Linked DNA regions of Homo sapiens: region 1 is linked to region 2. The links are contacts of gene promoters, found by promoter capture Hi-C in blood cells and fetal thymus (Javierre and others, 2016). All regions are on one chromosome and are shown on one strand. Each heading gives the region's core, a stretch centred on a gene start or on the middle of the fragment in contact. The rest is flanking DNA. Distances are from core to core; before and after follow the strand shown. Region 1 overlaps IPMK (inositol polyphosphate multikinase). Region 2 holds the start of SGMS1 (sphingomyelin synthase 1).

Region 1 (4,100 bases), core at 1,371-3,870, 7.6 Mb after region 2:
CTCCGTTAAAAAAAAAAAAAATTAGCCTGGCCTAGTGGTGTGCACCTATACTCCCGGCTACTCAGGAGGCTGAGGCAGGAGGATTGCTTGAGCCCTGAAGTTTGAGGCTGCAGTGAACTACATCACGCCACTGCACTCCAGCCTAGGTGACACAGCAAGAGCCTGTCTCAAAAAACAAACAAACAAAACGATATACTGAAGAAGCCAGACTACACTTGAATCAGACAACCAGAAATAATCCACTACCAAAGGGCAGCTATTGTTGGCCTCCACTTACACAATGTTCCAGCTGGAAAAGTATCATCTGAATCCCATCGTAAGGAACTATCAGAAACCCAAATTAAAGAACATTTCATAAAATAACTGGCCTGTACTCTTCAAAATGACAATGTCATAAAGGACAGGGAAAGGCTGAGGATATGTTACAAATGAAAGGACACTAAAAGACATAACAACTAATTGCAATAAATGATTCTGGACCAGATCCTGTACTGAGAAAAACAAATGTGATAAAAGACATTACAGTATTGGAACAGTTGACAAAGTGAGACTATGGACTATAGATTAAAGTATTATATCCCTGTTAAATTTCCCATAGTTGATCAATGTGCTGTGGCTACAGAAGAGAATATCCTTGTTCTTAAGGAAGACACACTTTAGTATTAACATGTAAAGTGGCATAATGTATGCAACCTACTTGCAAATAGTTAAGAAAAATTATTTGCATTGAGAGATAATAAAACAAATTTTGCAAAATGTTACTTTTCTATTGTTCTTGCAACTTTTCTGTAGGCTTGAAATTATTTTAGGTTAATTAGTTTCAGAGGATATCTAATAAAAAGAGACTACTAAGCCAAGATAATTGTAGGTCTTTCTCCCCCACAACAATTATCAGTTTAAATCCTTGTTTTCCCTATAGACTACCCCATTTCTACATCCTACATCAGATCAAGAAATATCAGATTTCCATCATTTGTTTAAAACTTTAAGGACTTTTTAAAGAACTTAATGATACATATTAAAAGAATTTTATGCTAACTTTGGTGAGTTTTGGGAATTTATATTGATCTTTTTTTTGCGAAAACTTCCTACAGAGATAGGTACACAACGTGCAAGGTATGCTATTATATACAAGAATGTTTAATAAGTACATTACTTATCACAGCAAACAAATGGTGAAAAGTCTAAAAATCTATGATTACAGAAATAGTTAAATAAATTGTGATACATCCACATTGTAGAACACAATTTTTAGAAAGAATAAAGTATACCGTAAGTGCAAAAATATAGGTATAATACATGATATAATACAGAATGAGAAAAGTTGCTGATAGATTTATTTGTATAAAAAAACAGAACCGCGCTAATGTGTTTATGTATGTGCCCAGAAACAAAGGCCTGAAAGGATAGACAGGAAGTAGTTACCAGTGATTGCCCCTGGGAGAATGAGTAGGGGGAAGGGCACTACTTAAACTGAATTTTTTTCCTAAAAGATCCGTGTACTATACAATTTTTACAGTTTAAAAAACAAAATACTTTGTATTCTTAGAACTAAGATTTAAATGTATTTTGATGAAATATGGTTTCAGTGAAGAACACAAAATATAACGGATGTCTGAACTACTAATATATGCTTGTTACTTAGCATATATAACAAGATCTATTTTTCTGTTCAAGCACCTTTGTTCTATCAAGTTCCATGAGTTTAATTTTTAAACTAACAAAGCCAACAACTCCTTTTTGGAAATAGGTAAAATAATTCTAAATGGAACATTTCTGGTTACTTACTGATAGTAACACAAATTTAAAAACAAAACAAATACCAACATAACGTCCTTAACAAAGCTTATCCTGAGAATTATTTCAATTGACAGACCAAAGCATGATCTAAATGATGTAAACTGTACATGACTTATGACAGTGGAGAAACATAATAAAACTGTTGAACTTTGAATTAGTGACCATCTTATCCATTTTACAAATAGGGAATATATCATCAGTCAAGTATCCTTTTACTTAACAATACAGTCAGGATTGTATAACTATCTGAGAATTAAATTCAACAAATATTAGGTTGCTAGCACAGTATGTTTAAGCCATTCTACTATGGTGACACAAACACTGTCCCTACTCAAAAGACCCTTATGAAATTGCAAAAAAAGTTTATTTTACACTGAATGCCATAATAAAATTAAGGACTACTACCTCTAGAATCTAAACTTTTCCATTAATTAGGCAATTTGGGTGACAAATTAACTTTTCAGCCACTATTTGCAATCACTCTGAATGGGATCACTATTACATACTGTAATAAGCAGTGGTTACACTCTTAAGTGACAATTATTTAGATTGTTTTTATGTTGAGATTTTTAAAATCTATTCTCCTTTGCATATAAGTCAATCTCTAGGGACCTTTAGGGAAACATTTACTTTTTCAGGCATCTAGAATATTATTAGGAATAGTAAAATCACAATGTATTAATATAAATCAATAGGCATTCCTCTATTAACAGAAACCCCATGAGTACTCTCAAATTCTCATTACAAGACACTGGCACACAGGAGGAAATGTCTATGCTGAGCAACTTGAGGACGTTGTTTCTTTACCTCGGTATACTAAAACAACTGTCAATTTTCACTATTCAATATTTCCTGAGTGTTACTGATTCCCAGTCCGTGCACAAGGCTATGAGAGAATACAGATTCTCTCTCTAACATCTAGGAATTCACAATTCAGTGGGGAGAAAGGCACACAAACAAAGTAGGTAAAAATAAAAGTAGTGGAAAATGTCGCTTTGAGAAATAGCATATACTCAAATTAATACTTATCCATTTTCTAAAAGCCTTGAGTTGTTTCAGCAAACACAATACATGGTGAAAAAATACAGTACTCAAAGGAAGAACTCTTGGTTTCACAATTCTTAACATATTGTAACGTGACTTCAGGCACGTCATTCTTAACCAGGGTTGGCCTTAGTCACCTCGTCTAAAAATGTCAGTATTAGCAACCTAAACCCGAATCGTTTTACCGGCATAAACTAAATTGTCTCTAGTGGCTCTTCCGGGTCAAAGATCCACAATACTCACATACTCATCCATCAGATTACCCCAGTAATCATGGCCCAGGGAACCACTACGGGTAAACTAGATGAATTAGAGTTCCTAAACTGAGATAGGCTTTAAACTTGTGAACTCAGAAAATGTATTACAGTGGCCATGATACAGCCTTATAAAATGAACAAGAATAGCTGAACATTTTGTGTATCATTCTGGTACAATATGCGTGTGAATTTCCCACCAGGAATCCGAGTTTCTGCACTACTGGAACCACGCCTCCCAGAGAAATCAAGGAGACACCAGAAAAACCTCCTCAAGGGACAGGGAAAAATCACGGACAAGCTTTCTTCCCTTCTCACCTCCCCCTAAAAAAGCCCAGTGTTTTTCTTCCCCTCCAGCTATGCAGCTGCACCCAGCAGAGAAGTACTAGATTAGCATCATCTGCATTTCATTCCTTTTCTTTTGCAATAGCTACTCGCCTATAATAAACAGACCTTGTGCTCAAGGGAGAATTTACTTCCCCGTCCAGTAAAAATGAAGTTCCTTATTTTCACTAACAACGCCGTCTCCAATCAACACCCAACCTCCCTGGGGGGTGGGTGAGACCAGACACGCCTCTCCCTGCCACCCGTGCTGCAAGCCTGACGACCCACACCCTAGGAATTGTCCCACTTTCCGAGCCCCTTCTGCTCGAGTGGCGAGGCTTCGGGGGACAGCGGAAGAGGCCAGGGATTTGGCGTGCACACCAGGGGGGCGTCCAGGCAGGCCCGAGAGCGCTAGGCTGCCTCCGCTGACAGGGGGCTCGCACAGGCGGAAGGGGAGCGGCGAGACCTATGCCACCCCCACTTACCCACTTTGTCCTTCCCGTACATGTGCCCGGCCACCTGATGCGAGAGGGGCACGCAGCCGTTGAGGAAGCGGAGTCTGCCGCCCGCCGGCTGCGGGGTGCCCTCAGGGGTGGACTCGATCGCCGGTGAGGTCCGCATTTCTGGGGGGCCCGGCGCCTCGACCCGGAGGGGGGATGGTGGCTCTGTTGCCATAAC
Region 2 (4,336 bases), core at 1,165-3,664:
AGCTGCAGAGGCATGTATTGAATACAAGTTAGACACTGTGCAAGATGCTAGAAATCTTCCAATGAGTAAGATACTGGTTTAATAACCGTGTCCCTCTGATGTCAATTTAATACATCTCTGGAGTTAATGTCTTTTATTAAAAAGTTTCCGGAAATTTCAAATAGCTCACTATCATCACTGAAGAGTTGCAGAAATGTATCTTATTATTTTACTAAAAACATAAATTTCTATTCTGTGAAGCAGAAATGGAAGGAAAGGCCACTTCACTGTTTTTACATATCACTGTCACTTTCTGCAGAGTAACTACTTAAAACTGCATGGCGGCAGCAGCCACCCCACTGCTACCCAGCAGGTCACAGAGATGCAGAGACTCAAAAACATGCTATATATTGCTGTATATTTTAAGAGGCGCAGTAAGGAAACTCGAAATACCAGGGCCTCCAGAGCTAAACAGGAAGCAAGATAAGACAAGTGAGCTGCCACAGGCAGAAGGCAGCACCTGGAGGTTCCCCCAAAGCTGGCGCCTCCGACAGCAGGCACAGGCTGCTGCTTGCTTGCTTGCTTGCTTCTTTGCTTGGCCACGGCATGTCTTCAGAGCTGGAAGGCTGCCACCTGCTGAATCACCAAACATCCCTGGGCTTCCCTTGGAGCACTGACCAGACAGGCACCCATCCCCCGCAGCCTTCGCCCGTGGACGTTTCACACCCCGACCAATGAAACGCCCCGCCCTCTCCCCTTCTGCACAGGCCAAAACAGCCGCCAACCCCTTTCCATCTGGGCAGCTCTAGGCAACACCCATCGCGTTCCTACGTCACCAGTCCCACTCCTCTCCTTCGGCCCACTCAGTCCCCCCTGAATGTTTCAACCCCCAGTGCCAGGAAGCGTGGGGAGTTCACAGCACAGCACATCAGACATTCGCCACTTCCACATCCAGGGAGCCAACTAGAAACATCCCCAAACCTAAAAGCAAAATAACCTGTCCAAACAGCTTTAAAGGTCCAGGAAGATAAATGTCAAGGGAGCTAAAATAGTCGACAGGCCCCAGAACATAGAAAATAAACTTCCCTTTCAGAAAGCAGCCTTCACTTGGTTTCGTAAGCGTGTACCGCTGAAGTCTGTACTGTTTGAAGGTGAAAAGAAACATCTGAGAAGCACCTGCCTGGATTCTCTTCGCTCCCTCCGGCCATGACAACCCTTATCCCGATTTCTACTTCGCGGCACCAAAGAGGAAAGCAGCATTCACCAGAACGCTCCAGGCTGAATCCGTTAGCTGGACTAGGGCACTCTATCCGGCCCACGGGAGGACGCCACAAGCCCGAGTTCGGGTTAAGACGGTGGGAGAGGCAGCCGCTGCTGCTGCTGTTTTGCCCTTGACACGTCGCTGGGGGATAGCGCAGACCCCCTCTGTCACGGAAAAGCGGCGTCCTGGAGAGACTGTCCAGTTCTGGGCTGCGCCGATTCCCCTCCAGGCCTTGCCCCTAAACGTCCCCGCCCCGCGGGGGCAGCCCTGCGGGGTCTCAGAGCCGCCCGCGAGCCTGGCGGGCTGTTACGCGGCCTGGAGAGAAGGGGAGCGCTCCTCGGGGAGGGGGGGTCCCACCTGTTTTGTCGTCAGGGGGCATCGAGGGGCTACGGTGGGGGGATCCCGAAATAGTGGGCGCCTGGCCGGCTGCGATCTGGACCGAAGGTACCAACTGTCACACCGCCACCTAGGCTGTGGGGGTGGAGCCGTGATTGGAGTCGGCCCCTGGGTGGGGGTCTCCGGACCCCGGGCGGGCTACTGCCCAAAGGCTCCCCGCCTCCCGATCGCCCCAATCCGACACCAGGCAGCCTTCCAGCCCGCACGCAGTAGCTCTGAAAAGGTGCCCACTGACGCCTCCTCCTTCCTCCCCGCCCCAACTTAGCCGGGGAGCCCCGCCGGCGGCCCGCCCCCTCCGAGCCCGGATCCCGGCCGCCGGACCTCCCCGCTGTGACCACCCACGGGAGCAGCAGCTCTGGAGGACTGCCCGCCAGGTACGCGCGCGGCACCGCGCGGGCTGCGCTCACGCCCCCTCGCCCCAGAGCAGCCCGCCCGCTGCTCCCCGGCATAAGGCCGGGCCCGCGAGACAGGTGTCCGATCGGCCCCCGCAACCGTGAGGCCGGCTGTCTGTCCCTGCCCCACGACTCACTTGCACTGGAGTCACGGCAGCCGCCGGAATTCCGCTCGCGGAGCCCCCGCCGCGGAATGAAATCCGGGGCAGGGCAGCGTCGGGGCTCCGCACCCCAATCGCGCTCTCCGACCGGCTCCCTAGGCGCGAGGGGAGAGCAGTCAGCCCAGGCCGGTCCTTCTCACTCCCGACCTGCCCGCCGCCTGCCGCCCGCAGCCGCTGCCCCGCTGGTGCGAACGCTTTCGACTTGCCACCGCGAGCCTCCCGGGCTGCCGAGCATGCCCAGTCCGCTGCCCGAGCCGGCCCGGCTTCCCGCGCGACGCGACTCCGCTCCTCCGGGTGTTCACTGCGGCCGGGGGGGCGGGCCGGCCGGGCGGGGTCCGCGGGGGGCTCCTCCCGGGACCGAGCGGGACCCCGAACCAAGGGACAGTCGCAGTTTGGGCCCCTTGAATTTTACTTTCAAGTAATGGGAAACTGAGGAGGCGGGCGCTTTCCCCAGCGTTTTTAGGGGCCCACTAAGTAAGGCCTAGCGGGAGCCAGATTTTACAATCTGGGACGGTAAATCCCTTGGGGCAGGGCCGGAGACGGGAGCCGCTAGAGCTGGTCACAAAGCAGGGAACGCAAACTCAGCCTGCTGGAAGCCAGGCACGAGTTTGCGAACTACTACTGGATTCTTTTTCCCACCAAGCCCAAGGGCTGCGACACTTGGGATTAATGCCCAATGGATCATTCCTAGGAAACGGCCGACCTGACTATTCGGCCCATTTTCAAACCTCTAACCATAGACTCTCATCTTTCTCCCACAACAGAAAAAAAAAGCCTCTGGCGACGCCTGGGAGCGCGACGGAGGCGCAAGAGCTCTAACCGCGCGAGGTGAAAACTCCGACTGCGTCAGAGCCGCCCCGCCCCGCCTGGGGCCCACCTTCCGCCGCCCCTCCGAGCTGCGGCGAAAACCCGGAGAGCGGCTAGGCCGGGGTCGGAGCCCGCGCATGCCCAGTAGCCCCACGTGGTGCAAGTCGCCTGAAGGAAGGTTTTCCTCTGCTCCCCGAGCGAAGCCCCAGCGCCCAAGTTAGGATGGACAGCGGGGAGAGCTGGCCTTCCCGCCCCGATGCCCGCCGTCCCTGGCCGGCCCGCGCCGCACCTCGGTGGCCTACAGGCAGCCCGAGGCCGTGCCTCCCGCGGGGTCGGGGACTTGGCGAGCGGGGGAAGGGGCGCGGCTACGGGCCCGGCGTACCACGTGACTGTCCGCGGCGCTCCGGGCAGCCATCTTCCGCCCGGCCATCGGGCCGCGGGCGCTCGGAACCGACCTGGGAGCTGGCGGGACCGTCCTCCCCCGCCACGCCCTCCCATCGGGCTTTGGGCGCCGGACTCTGGCCACCGCTCGGCACCTGCCTCCGCCTCGCCTTGGGGTATAGGAGTCCTGTACCGACCCCTGGCTTGCCCAGAGGACAGGTTCTCGCCCGGGCCAGAAGCAAACTGCGGCGAAATCGAGACAACAGAACTCAGGTGGCGGAGGGTCCCCGCTTTTCCCCAGAGGCGGAAGTTGGCGAGGGAGTCCTCTTCCGTTATCCAGCGAGAGCGCTGCTCTGGCTGCCTCCCGGTTCTAACCTAGTCCCTGCAGAGGAGTGATGTACCGGCAGGGACATTGGACAGAGGCCGTGCTCTTCCCTGCAGCGCATACCCCGCGGCCCCTGCTGGTGGGCCGCTTCGATGGTGCTGAGGTTCATAGTGAATATTTATTGAGCGCCTGCCTCGAGTCCCTTGGGTTTCCTGTTGTCTCGGGACCTGCCGCGTCACTATCACCCTAGAATTTGTTAGAAATGCACGTTTTCGGCCCCACCTAGACCTACAGAACCAGAAACTGCGGGTGGAGTCCTGCAATATGATTAACAAAGCCCTCCGGGTAGTTGTCATGGACGCCTCTATATTTCAGCTAAGCAGTCCATTTTAATAAGCTAGGCAGTGAAAATTTCCATAGTTTTCCCCAAAGCACAGTGAGGAGTCAGGGATTCAAAATGAGGCAATCTGCCCCAATGCAGGCGTTTTATTGCACCCTCCACTCCTGGCTCCTCTGGTTTTTTCGCCCGTAAGACACAGTACTGCTCTTCTCAGGAAGATTAGGAAAGTACATTTGTCACATACGCTTTTCAAGCACGGCTTTAAAATAACAACTGAAATTCAGTTCAACTGCA

The links. Contacts are between HindIII fragments. The CHiCAGO score rates a contact against its expected background, and 5 or more counts as called.
Region 1: a contact is called between a fragment that was not itself captured here and the fragment with the promoter of SGMS1 in region 2, in 1 of 17 cell types (naive CD8 T cells). The highest score is 5.3, in naive CD8 T cells.

The regions. Positions count from the first base shown.
Region 1 is chr10:58,263,515-58,267,614 of GRCh38, forward strand. IPMK (inositol polyphosphate multikinase) reads right to left here. Exons shown (of 6, transcript NM_152230.5): 1 at 3,908-4,100. The coding sequence starts at 4,097. Among named protein-coding and RNA genes, the nearest start is that of IPMK, 2.3 kb to the right of the region's middle. RefSeq lists enhancers at 3,551-3,660, 3,615-3,909. The HindIII fragment of the contact is 1,554 bases long and covers 1,844-3,397 here.
Region 2 is chr10:50,621,542-50,625,877 of GRCh38, forward strand. It overlaps SGMS1 (sphingomyelin synthase 1), which reads right to left and starts at 2,415. Exons shown (of 11, transcript NM_147156.4): 1 at 2,166-2,415. SGMS1-AS1 (SGMS1 antisense RNA 1) reads left to right here and starts at 3,410. Exons shown (of 4, transcript NR_126411.1): 1 at 3,410-3,650. RefSeq lists enhancers at 463-622, 1,173-1,572, 2,284-2,812 and silencers at 1,763-2,102, 2,363-2,622, 2,671-2,828, 2,953-3,582. The HindIII fragment of the contact is 12,791 bases long and covers 1-4,336 here.